Regions from separate parts of the Homo sapiens genome. Here regions 1 and 2 are each linked to region 3. Evidence: promoter capture Hi-C in 16 types of primary human blood cells and fetal thymus (Javierre and others, 2016). All regions are on one chromosome and are shown on one strand. Each heading gives the region's core, a stretch centred on a gene start or on the middle of the fragment in contact. The rest is flanking DNA. Distances are from core to core; before and after follow the strand shown.

Evidence for each region. Contacts are between HindIII fragments. The CHiCAGO score rates a contact against its expected background, and 5 or more counts as called.
Region 1: a contact is called between a fragment that was not itself captured here and the fragment with the promoter of FIGLA in region 3, in 6 of 17 cell types (M0 macrophages, M2 macrophages, M1 macrophages and 3 more). The highest score is 16.0, in M0 macrophages.
Region 2: a contact is called between a fragment that was not itself captured here and the fragment with the promoter of FIGLA in region 3, in 1 of 17 cell types (M0 macrophages). The highest score is 5.1, in M0 macrophages.

The regions. Positions count from the first base shown.
Region 1 is chr2:70,923,157-70,927,330 of GRCh38, reverse strand. All of the region lies in intron 2 of VAX2 (ventral anterior homeobox 2), which reads right to left. Among named protein-coding and RNA genes, the nearest start is that of ATP6V1B1, 11 kb to the left of the region's middle. The HindIII fragment of the contact is 8,926 bases long and covers 1-4,174 here.
Region 2 is chr2:70,963,023-70,967,083 of GRCh38, reverse strand. It overlaps ATP6V1B1 (ATPase H+ transporting V1 subunit B1), which reads right to left. Exons shown (of 14, transcript NM_001692.4): 10 at 3,772-3,922; 11 at 3,430-3,512; 12 at 2,542-2,646; 13 at 2,219-2,348; 14 at 1,653-2,126. The coding sequence ends at 1,963. It also overlaps the pseudogene RN7SL160P. Among named protein-coding and RNA genes, the nearest start is that of ANKRD53, 14 kb to the left of the region's middle. RefSeq lists a silencer at 1,809-1,918. The HindIII fragment of the contact is 239 bases long and covers 2,692-2,930 here.
Region 3 is chr2:70,789,009-70,793,218 of GRCh38, reverse strand. FIGLA (folliculogenesis specific bHLH transcription factor) reads left to right here and starts at 2,576. Exons shown (of 5, transcript NM_001004311.3): 1 at 2,576-2,811. The coding sequence starts at 2,581. The HindIII fragment of the contact is 3,375 bases long and covers 1-3,137 here.

The DNA.
Region 1 (4,174 bases), core at 1,527-4,026, 130 kb before region 3:
CTGGCTCCTGGGCTCCTGGCCCTGAGAACGTCCTCCAGCCCAGCTGCAGGAGGGGAGTCCTGAGCCAGCTTCTCATCTTCCTTTCCTCTGCAGCCACATCCTCTTATGTCCTACTTGGACCCTGGTACTCTGGTCATTCATTCAGGCAACACAGAAATATCAAGCATTTGATGCAAGCCAGGCATTGCCAGGTGCTGAAAAAACAAAAATAAATAAAACTCCATTTTGACCCTCTTGGCTGTCAGACACTAGCAGGGTGGGTCATGGGCAAGCAGTAAGTGTTACAACACGGTAAGTGTTTTGGTTGAAGTAGCAAACAATATAGTGGAGGAGACAATATATAGTAGCAAACTATCGTGGAGAATCAGAGGTCAGACAGCCACTGATTCAATTCTGGTTCCCTTAACTAGCTAGATGACTTAAGTCAAGTTACTTAACTTCTTGGAGCCTCAGTTTCCCCACCAGTAAAATGGGGTTCTTAACTCTTCCTCATAGTTTTGTTGTGATGACTCGGTGGGCTAATAATCACAGACTTATTAAAGTGCTGGCAGTTGATGAAGTCTTTTAAGCAACATGGTGATCACATCATCTGGTCAGATTTGCTCACTTTTCCATAAGCCAGTGATTCTCAGACATCACTGTGCATTAAATCACCTGGAACAAAAAATATATAGGTTGTGGGGTCTTCCCTAGAAATCTGACTGGGAACCTCTGGGCTGAGGGTGGCACAGGCATCTGTATTTTACCCCAGGGGAGCTGTACGTACAGCTGGTCTCCAGAGCATACCTTGAGAAATGCTGCTTTAATCAAACACCAAACTTTCTTTTTCAAACAAAGCATGGTGACAAGGTGTATCAGAAGGTTTCTAAAACCAAGGAGAACTGGACTAAGTGGGGCTGTCCATGTTCTCTGACATGAGAAGAACTTTCAGTGTATGCTACCCTTGGGCTGACAAAGGTGGGCAGAGGGTTCTTTTGATAGTCTTGAGAGAGAGATTCCTCTGAGGCTGCCCCTGCTCTCCAGGGCAGCCATGCTTAGCCTCTGTTGCACAGCCATGGAGTCTGGGCAAGGCCGGGACAGAGGTCAGCTGCACTGTGTCTTGTTCACTGTTCCTACTCTGGTGGACCCTTTGTCCTGTAGAGCCCTGTGAGTGGTGGAGAGCCAAGGAAAGGGCTTCGCCATTCTGCCTGCCCAATCCTGTAAGTGGGTTTCAGATTTAAATCTGCAGACAACTGAGCTGAATTGGGCATGCTAGATTAAAGAAGAGACTAGCCATGGAAATGGGCCCTGAGCAAGCTCTGTGTTTTCTCTGCCTGAATTGGGACCATGCCTGGGTCCTCTGAGTATCCAGGGAAGAAGGTAGAGATGCTATTTGGCAGAAGGAAGAGAAGAGAAAAAAGAGAGGAGAAGAGATAAAAAGAGAGGAGAGGAGAGGAAGAAACAGAGAGAGAAGCAGATATTTTGGAGAGCAGTTGGAGCACATACTCAGCAGAGCACTGGGAGGAAGTTCTGTGAGTAGCTGGTGCTGAATCCCTCGGGCCCAAAAGAGCCTTTGGCTTCCAGTCTCTTCCAATTCCTGGCTACACCATGGTTCCTGTTATTGAATTTCAACAAGGCTATGGCTTCTGTTTTTAATCCCTGGGGAGTCCATCCATTATCTGAGGGCACTTGAAGGAATTTCTTATCTTTTCCCCCAAAAGAGCTCTGACAGAGACTCTCAGATAACTTAAACCAGAGAAAAACCAGCCCTCCCCCCAAAATCTGACATGCTTTCTTGACATCTCCGCTGGGATCTCAAACTTAACTGATCCAAAACAAAATTCTTGATTATGCTCCCACCATCTTGCTTCTCCCCCAGTTTCTCAACTCATTATATGGTGTCACCATTCTCCCAGTTGTTCTACCCAAACCACTTCCTTTCCCTTGCCCTGGGCGTATAATCCATGAGCAAGTCCTAATATGTTCCAGCACTAAATTAGAGTGCCTCTCACATTAGTACGCTTCTCTCCTCCACCACTGCTCTGTTCAGGACCCATGTCAGTAGTTCCTACCTGTCCACACCTGTCCACTCCTTTCCCCTGTGGGTCCCTTCCCCAAGTGGCAGCCAGAGAACCTCTGTAAAATGCCAATCATCTCCTGTCACTTTCTCTTCAATGTATTACCATAGTCTCTAAGCATCGCATGATCCTCCCCTACCTACTTACCCAATTACCCTGTAGCTCCAGCCACTCTGGCCTTCTGATACTTCTAGAACATTCTATGCCAATTCCTGCCCCTCACGTCTTCATAGTTACCGTCTGCCTTGACGTCTCCTTCTGGCTCCTCATCTGGCTGTTTCTCCCTTGCCACTCAGGCCTAAGCTCAACGTCATCTTCTCAAAGAGGCCTTCCCTGAACACCCCAGTAAAACACTTCCTTTTAGTCTCTCTCCTATGACCCCATTTGAGCTCCCTCACAACACTCATCACTCCTGGAAATGCGGTTTGTCTTTGTCTCTGTGGATCTTAGCTGCACGAGGGCAGATGCCTGGTCTGTTTTGTTCTAAGCCAAAGCCCAAGTGCCTAGAAGAGTACCTGCTATATAGTAGGTATTCAATAATATTTTTGAACAAAATTATGGGTGAACATACTGAGAATGCCACAGAATTCTAGCTACAAGTTAGTTAACCTCTCTGAGGCTCAGTTTGCTTAAATGGGGATAATAGTACCCATAAAGCCATCTTCATGGGTACTATTACCCATGAATGCACCCGCTGCAAGTCTTGAGCAAGTTATCTATTTAACTTTTCTATGCCTCAGTTTCCTTCTATTTAAAGTGGAAACAATATACTCTTATTGGCTGGGCATGGTGGCTCACACCTATAATCCCAGCACTTTGGAAGGCCGAGGAGGGAGGATTACTTGAGACCAGGAGTTCCAGGCCAGCCTAGGAAACAAAGCGAGACCCCGTCTCTACAGTAAACATAAATAAATAAATAAATAAATAAGACTTACTGTTGTATGCTAATGAGGTGATTCAGGGTGGATCTCTAGGTAGTTTCAGGACTGGGGCTGGTTCTAGAAAGACCATACTTGTGATTAGAGGGTAGAAACTTTCAGCCGCCCCCATTCTTTCCTTCTAGGGAGGGGAGGGGAATGGAGATTGGATTATAGTCTTTTTTTGTTTGTTTTTGAGATAGAGTCTTGCTCTGTCATCCAGGCTGGAGTGCAGTGAAGCTAACATGGCTCACTGTAGCCTTGACCTCCTGGGCTCAAACAATCCTCCCACCTCAGCCTCCCAAGTAGCTGGGACTACAGGTGTGTGCCACCACACCCTGCAGTTTACAGTGTAAACTGTAAAAAATGTTTTAAAAAACTTTTTTTAGAGATAAGGTCTCCCTCTGCTGCCAAGGCTGGTCTTGAACTCCTGGACTCCTGAGCAATCCTCCCTCCTTGGCCTCCCAAAGTGCTGGGATTGCAGGCGTGAGCCACTGTGCCAGGCCGGCCTGGATTTAGTCTTGAACAAGGAGACCAGGAGAACTTCTGGTTGGCGAACACGTGGAAGTGCTGGGAATGGGGGCACTGGAAACGGCATGGGAGCTCCACGCACCTCCCCCTTACCTTGCCCTTTGTGTCTCTTCCATCTGGCTCTTCCTCACTCGTGTCATTTATAATAAACCAGCAAGTGTAGGGGAGGTGTTTCCTGAGTTGTGTGCGTCATTCTAGTGAATTGTCAAACCTGCAGAGGGCGATGTGGGAGCCCCCGGTTTTAGGCCAGTCCATTCAGAAGCACAGGTGGCTCCTGGAACTTGAGTCTGCTGTGGCACTGTCTTGTGGGACAGAGCCCTTAACTTGTAGGGTCTGTGCTAGCTCTGGGAATTAGTGTCAGTATTGAACTGTTGAATATACTCAGTGATGCTGGAGAATTGGAGCACTGCCTGCTGGTGGTTGGAACATACCATACACCTGGTGTTGGAAGAAAAATCTCACACGTATCCCATAAGGTTGTGGTGAGGACTAAACTAGTTAGACTATGTCACACCCTTGGAACAGGACCTGGTGCATGGGAAGCGCTCAATAAGCATCAGCTGTCCATTACTTTTACTATCTGTCAACCCTAGGACTGGGGACAGAGGAAGGAGGGTTGTAGTGAGAACAGTGCGGAGGACTTGCTGAGGGCCTACTATGTGTCCAGCT
Region 2 (4,061 bases), core at 1,562-4,061, 170 kb before region 3:
AAACCAAATTCTACCTAGCATCTCTCAGGCAGAGCTGTTTAGAGTCACACACATCTTTTGTGGCCTTGGTTGTCCCTTCCAAGGCTCCTGAGCTCATGTTCCACATGAAATTTATCAAGATATTTGTGTGTTTATTTGTTTGTTACTGAGACAGGGGGCGACCCTGTCTCACTCTGCAGCCCAGGCTGGAGTGCAGTGGCGCCATCACGGCTCACTGCAGCCTGACCTCCCAGGCTCAAGTAATCCTCCCGCTTCAGCCTCCTGGGTAGCTGGACTACAGGTGTGTGCCACCTAGGTGATTTTTAAAAATTATTTTAGTAGATACAGGGGTCTCACTATGTTGCCCAGGCTGGTCTTTAACTCCTGGGCTCAAGCAATCAATCCTGTCTCAGCCTCCCAAAGTGCTGGGATTACAGGCTTGAATTATCACACCCAGCCTATCAAGCTATTTCTTTCTTTCTTTTTTCTTTTTCTTTTTTCTTTTTTCTTTTTTTTTTTTTTTGAGACGGAGTCTCACTCTTATTGCCCAAGCTGGAGTGCAATGGTGCAATCTTGGCACACCGCAACCTCTGCCTCCCAGGTTCAAGCGATTCTCCTGCCTCAGCCTCCCATGTAGCTGGGATTACAGGGATGTGCCACCACAGCCGGCTAATTTTTTTTTTTTTTTTTTTGTATTTTTAGTAGAGATGCGGTTTCTCCATATCGGTCAGGCTGGTCTCGAACTCTCGACCTCAAGTGATCCGCCCGCCTCGGCCTCCCAAAGTGCTGGGATTAACAGATGTGAGCCACCGCTCCTGGCCCAAGCTATTTCTTAAGGAAGATAATTATCTCCCTAAGAAAAATTTTATTGTCAACTGTTAAGACATTAATGCAGCTTTTTAAAAATTAATTAATTAATTAATTAATATGAGATGGAGTTTTACTCTGTCGCCCAGGCTGGAGTGCAGTGGCGCGATCTCAGCTCACTGCAACCTCTGCCCCCCGCGTTCAAGTGATTCTCCTTTCTCAACCTCCCTAGTAGCTGGGATTACAGGCGTGCGATATCACACCCAACTAATTTTTTTTGTATTAGTAGAGACGGGGGTTTCGCCATGTTGACCAGGCTGGTCTCGAACTCCGGACCTCAAGTGACCCCCGCCTCGGCCTCCCAAAGTACTTGGATTACAGGCGTGAGCCACCGCGCCGGGCTTAAATTTAATTTTTATTTTTTTTTTTAAGAGACAGAGTCTCGCTATGTTGCCCAGGCTGAAGTGCAGTGGCTATTCCCAGGAACGGTTCTGCTATTGATCAGCACTGGAGTTATGACCTGTTTGGTTTCAGACCTGGACTTGTTCACCCCTCCTTAGGGAACCTAATGGCCCCCGTCTCCGGGAGGTCACCATATTGATGCCCAACTTAGTGTGGACACCATATCAGCATAGCGCACGACAGACCAGAACTCCTGAGCTCAAGCGATCCTCCCGTCTCAGCCTCCAGAGTAGCTGGGACAACAGTCTCAGCATCCGCGTTGGGCTTTTTTTTTTTTTTTTTTTTTTAAATAGGGAGAATAGTTTAATGAACTCCGTGTGCTCATAACCCCAGCCCCCAGCTTCAACAATTATCTTTTCCTTTCATTTTTATCTTTCTTTTGCCAATCTTGTTTTCAACGAAGGTAAATTCATCTCAGTTACTTTTTATTTTTATTTTGTGGGCTTTTAACATAAAAATACAGATGCTCCCGTCAGAGTAAGGCATCGCAACCTTCAGTTCTTCCGCAGCACCGGGAGTCGAGGGGGAGGCATGGAGCGCGGGAAAAGGAATCGAGCGAGGGAAAGGGATGGAGCGTGCGGCGCCCCCACCACCTCGGAGCCAGCGGAGGGCGGAGGGCGGCGCAGAAGCCGCTGGTTGGGGTGGCGAGGGAGGGGAGACCCGGGAGCCGAGGGTAGGTTCCCTGCCGGTGTTGGGGTGCCACGGCGCGCGGGGCTAGAGCGCAGTGTCAGGCGCGAGGTCCTGCAGCGCCCCCTCGCGGGAATAGAACTCGTCGATCACGGCCTGCGGAATGCGCTTCAGCATCTCCTTGGGGAAGATGCGCAGCAGCTTCCAGCCCAGGTCCAGCGACTCGAACACCGAGCGGTTCTCGTAGGGGCCTAGGGACAGAGCGGGAGGGAGTGTTAGGAATGTGTGTGGGGCGGAAGGAGGGTGAAGAGGTTACTGGCTCCACACCAGCGACGCGCCTTACCCTGATTGATGAAGTTCTTCTCAAACTTCTGCAGGAATTCCAGGTAGAGCAGGTCCTCAGAGGTGAGCGCCTCCTCCCCAACTACTGCCTTCATGGCCTGCACGTCCTTCCCGATGGCATAGCAGGCGTACTGGGGGAGGGGCAAGGCGTCGGTGGCCGCTGCGGGCTTACCACGGGAGTCCAGTAGCCCCCAACCTGGCCACACTGGGACCCCGTTCGGAAAGGAATTTTGCCAGGAGAAAAGCTTGTCCTTCAGATGGGGCTCAGGCCTTCAGCTTCGGAAACTAGAGGACCTACCAGCCCCCGGACCCTCTTCTCCTTACCAGCTGGTTGGAGACATCTCCATGGTCCTTTCTTGTCATGCCTTCCCCAATGGCTGACTTCATCAGCCGCGACAGGGAAGGGAGCACGTTGATGGGGGGGTAGATCTGAGGGAGAAGAAAAAGGGAGTGGTGGACAGCAGGACTCAAGCTTTGCTCCCCCTGTCCCCAAATTGTTCTCAGGAGAAGCTCCTCACTTATCCTACATTCCGAGGGGTCAACAGCCACACCCACCCTCTCTTATCTCCCACAAATTCTAGGGCTTGGGCATCAGCTGTCTTATATGTGGCCCTAGACAGAACAGTGGAGGGGGAAGATGACATGGCATTAGTTAATAAAAGGCTCAGTATTTCAAAACTTTTGATAATGTGGACAAAAACCACTTTGAAGCTTAATGGTTAATAGCTGCAAAAAAAAAAAAAAAAAAAAAATACCTGCCAAGCAAAGAGAAAAACGTCATAGAGGTCACCTTTAACCTACACACAGGACAGATGTGTGTTAGTTAGCCGTTGTTTTCTGCCCACCGAAGCAAATAACTGGAAAGGGAAGGCAAATAGTATTGACTATCTGCCAGATGCTTTCTATATGCCAACTTATTTTTATCCTCCACAATGCGTCTGGGTGATATATTTGATTATTCCCATTTTATGGATGAGGAAACCTAGGATCCAAGAGATGAAATTATCTTCTCAAGATCCCAGAGCCAGGTAAACCAGATTCTGCTCAGGCCTGTCTTCTGTCTGTGAACCATGCAGTCTTCCCTGTGGCTGTCTCCTGTTTGGGGTTCGCTTTGGCTGGCCCCTCCTAATTCATGCCTGGGGGCAGTGAAACATCTGTTCCTCAGTGTTTCTCTGGGCTGAGAGCAGGAAGTGGGTAGGGACAGGGCAGTACCTGTCTGTTGTGAAGCTGTCTGTCCACGTAGATCTGTCCCTCTGTGATGAAGCCCGTCAAGTCTGGGATAGGGTGGGTGATATCTACAAGAAAACTCACTGGCCTCAGTGTGGGTGGGGGCCCAGGTCTCCAACCACTCAGGGCCACCTGGGGTCTGTTTCCCTCATGGGAGTGATAGGGATGTGTGGGGGGCATGGATGGTGGAGGAAAGGGCAGTGTCTATCTCGATGGAGGAAAAGCGCTGCTGCACATCTGTGCAAAGCAACGTGGGCCCTTTAAGTATCTGGTTGGAAAAGGGAGGACAGGGGAGCTCTGGAGGGTAGTGGGCTGTGAGGAGGCTACCGTCGTTGGGCATGGTGAGGATGGGGATCTGTGTGATGGATCCTCCCCGACCCTCCACGCGGCCCGCCCGCTCGTAGATGGTGGCCAGGTCTGTGTACATATATCCAGGAAACCCTCGGCGCCCAGGCACCTCCTCTCTAGCAGCAGAGACCTGCAATATCCATGGGCACTGGGGTAAGAAAGGGGATGAGAGGCTGAAGCTAGGAAGGGTGGGTGGGAGGTTCAGTGACCCTGTGAGAAATGGAGTGGGGGGCAGGGGAGGAATGGCCAGGCTGAGACCAAGCCCTGGA
Region 3 (4,210 bases), core at 1,327-3,826:
CTACATATGTGTCATATCTGCAAAAAGGGCTTAGAAGCAATGACATCCCAAAAGGAATGAGCAAGCAAGCACACAGATCTTGGTTTCTAAATCCTACCTTCCACTAAAAGAAGAATAGACTGATCCCTGGGCTGGGGCTGGGAAAATTCAAGAAGAGCCTTCCTGGGACAAGTGAGAAAGTGCACAAAGAATGAGGGAGTCATATGAAAAGGACAGAGGAGCCAGCTTAGAGGGCCTCCCATAAGCCAAATCTGAGACAATTTGAGCATTAACATAATGATGTAAATAAATTATATCCTGTGACTAAAATAGAAATTCATGAGCCCATGCTGACATAAATACAAAATGAATAAATAAATGGGAAGAAGGGAAAGCTCTTTTTCACAGTAGAATGCCAATCATTTGCCTCTAATTGTAGTGCTGGTTGATTCAGGTAGGAGTCAACAATGGATGAGAAGGAGTATCTCCTCACAAAATTTTTTTTTATTTTTATTTTTTGAGACGGAGTCTTGCTCTGTTGCCCAGGCTGGAGTGCAGTGGCACAGATCTAGGCTCACTGCAAGCTCCGCCTTCCGGGTTCACACCATTCTCCTGCCTCAGCCTCCTGAGTAGCTGGGACTACAGGCACCCGCCACCGCGCCCGTCTAATTTTTTAATATTTTTTAATAGAGACAGGGTTTCACCATGTTAGCCAGGATGGTCTCAATCTCCTGACCTCGTGATCCGCCCGCCTCAGCCTCCCAAAGTGCTGGGATTACAGGCATGAGCCACCGTGCCTGGCCCACAAAATATTTATCAATTTATGGTGAAAAAACCTGACACCACCACCTTGACCAGGCGATTAAGGTTAACATCACCAGTGGTGGGGCAGATCAACCTCATGTACTTCCTGATGTGATGCACTGAGAAGAGCCCAGCATCATTTATATGGAGCCCCTCCATGAAGGCATGGCTGGGGTCTGGACATGAGCAAATAGTGGACAACCCCAGGTCGAGGGACATACTACAGAATGAAAGGCCCCTACTCTTTTAAACTGTCAAGGGCATGAAGACAGGACAAGATGGAGGAAATGGTCCAGAATGAAGGAGAGTAGAAATATGACAACAGAATAAAACTTGTACTCCTGGATTGGATTCCAACCAGAAGAGAAAAAGACATTGTTGAGACAGCTGGTGGTACTTTGATGGGGTCCATGGATTGTATGGTAGCACAGTACCAATGCTTACTTCCTAGTTTGAGTGGTTGTGTTGCGGTTATGTGGAAGAGAGGCCTTGTTTAGGGGGAATACCCACTGGAGTATTTAGAGGTGATATGACAGCATGTCTGCAACTTAAAAACTTTAAAAAAAGAATAGATCAATGGATGCAGCTAGACGTCATTATTGTAAGGGAACTAACACAGAAACAGAAAACCAAACATTGCCTGTTCTCACTTTATAAGTGTGAGCTAAACATTGAATACACAGGGACACAAAGATGGAAACAATAGACACTGGGGTCTGCTTGAGGGGGAAGTAAGAGGGGGGCGTGGGTTGGAAGGATACCTATTGGGTACTAGGCTCACTACTTACGCCACGGGATCATTCGTACACCAAACCTCAGCAACACACAATTTACCCACTTAACAAACCTGCACATATACCCCTGAACCTGAAACAAAAGCGTAGAAAAAATATTTTCTCAGACCAAAGAAAAAAAAATGTATTTCTATGCTTGGAAGGAATGATTTTACAGAGGGCTTCCAGAAACATGTCTGATTTTCAGGTGCAAGATCAGAATGTTCCAGTTATATTGATAACCTCCAGAGAAACAAACTCTCATGAGTAATCTACTCAAAACAGAAGATGTAGTTAATTATTTCTAGAGTACTAAATTGTACTCTACTATTAAACAAGTTTGGGATCGCTATTTTCCAGCACATTTTCTGAAGTAACAACTGTGTTTGGCTGTGTTGACAATAAAGGTCTGTGTGGAAAAGGGGGAAAATGAATAAAGCGATGTATCCCCCCACTCGCGAAAAAAGAAAATAGTTCAAATAGAATGGAAAAAGAATAATGAAAATGAGAATATTCACAGCGAGAAAGAGGGCAACGGAGCAAACGTGAAAACTTAGCAAGTAGAGAGCGTGGCGAAGGGGGTACAGGAGCTCTTAGAAACTCTTCTTGCCATTTTCCCCGCAACTTTTATTTCAAAACGAATTCTTAAAAAAGTTTTGTGGATATCCATCACATTTTTCTGTATACACATAGCCAGAAGCTCAGGCCCCAAGACAGATTGATTAAATGGGAATTTGGGGGACTGGAACCGTGGCATGTGGATTGAGAAAAACACCACTACCACGCTCCCGGCGGTTCCAGGTGTGCAGCCGGGGCTGCGCTCCAGCGCTCCCGAGTCACACCTGTGCGGCTTATTCAACGCGATGCCTGGACGCAGCCTCCAGAGAGGAGGCCGGGATTGGAATACGCAGCCGGGGAATGGTTGCAGGTGGTCCAGCTCCCGCCCCCGCCCCGCCCCCGCCCGGGCCTCGTGCGGCCCCGGGTGCGCAGGTGAAAGCCCGGCCTCAGCGGCCTCGGCCCTGCCATGGACCCCGCGCCCGGCGTCCTAGATCCCCGCGCCGCGCCGCCCGCGCTCCTGGGCACCCCGCAAGCCGAGGTGCTGGAGGACGTGTTGCGGGAGCAGTTCGGGCCGCTGCCCCAGCTGGCCGCTGTCTGCCGGCTCAAGCGGCTGCCCTCGGGCGGCTACTCGTCCACTGAAAACCTCCAGTTGGTGCTGGAGCGGCGGCGTGTGGCCAACGCCAAGGAGCGTGAGCGGGTGAGGGATCCCTAGGGTCGACGTCCGTTCCCCCCTTCCCTGCTCTACCACCAAACACCTGGTCAACACCCGGGGGTCCGCTCACCGCCCACCCCCGCTCGAGGCGACTTCGAGCTCCCGAGGCCTCCCACGCCCCCAGCTTGTCAGGAGAATGGCAGTGGCCTCCTTCTTCTGCACCTCCGTGCAGCTGCTCGTTGGCGGCCGCTGCGGTGGCCGCCTCGCCCGCTAACCCTCCAGGATTTGTGCAGGACCCGGGTCTGGGAGGGGACAGAGGAGGGGCCCTGACAACTTCAAAAATGTCTCCCTGGGCAGGTGCTTTAAAAGCTTCGCGCCCAGGGGGTGCGCCTTCATCTCACACCGTAGGCGCTGGTGGGTGCTTGGGACGCGCAGGGATCCCCTTCGCTCCTTTTTCTTGCTCTCTGCATCTCGGCCTCGAAGCACACACGAGGGTGAGGAGAAAGGGGGGCCTGACGGAAGTGACTTTTCTTTTTTAAAGTAACGAAACACGACGTCCCAGTGTGCACCCAAGACTCCCACTCAACTCTGTCAAGATAAAGTGAGTGTTTCCCAGTCGAGCCGCAGCAACTCGCAAACGGGAAGGGTCCTGTGGGCCGTGGTTGGAGCGGCACCTGCTGGTAGATTTTACTATCTAACGAAACTCAGCCCCAAACTTGGGAGACATGGTCTCCTTCCTAGCGTTTGCAGTCTACGGGTTTGGTTGCAGCAGAGGCGAATCCAGGAGAGAGAAGGGTGAGGGGTAGAAGAGGGAGCAGAGCGCACGTTCAGGACTGGGACTGGGGAGAGAAGTACCGCCCGGGGCTGTTCCTAGGCCTTTCAGAAATGTCCCAGTGAATCAAGTAGGAGCTTTGCAGGGAGAGGGCAAGCGCAGAAAGGACGACAGGAGAGTAGGAGACTTCTTTAAGTCTCCTCTTTTACCAGTACTAGACTCTTGATGGACAGAACCCTGTGATCTGATTCGGTGGCCCTACAAAGAGATTATGATCTAATAGTTTAAGTGGTCCTTCCCACCAGGAAGGAATTGTCTTCTCCAGAGAATCAGTCCTGGTTTTATCCACTAAAACACGAATAAGCTTTATTATTCTTTATAATGATAAGGTTAACACACTTGGAAAAGACAGAAATGAGTGAAGAAGTTAAGAGACACAACACAGATATAACTACTGTGAACATTTTTGTGTATATCCACCCAGTCTTTTTCTAGTTTTGTGTATTCATATATATATATATATAATTTTTACAAAATATTCAGTACATATTTGTGTAATTTTTTCCACTTAACATTATCAAAAGCATTTTCTTATATTCTTAAGTATTCTTTCAAAGAATAGTTTTTGACTGCATAGTCTGTCCAAAAATGGACCATAATGTATTCAGTCTC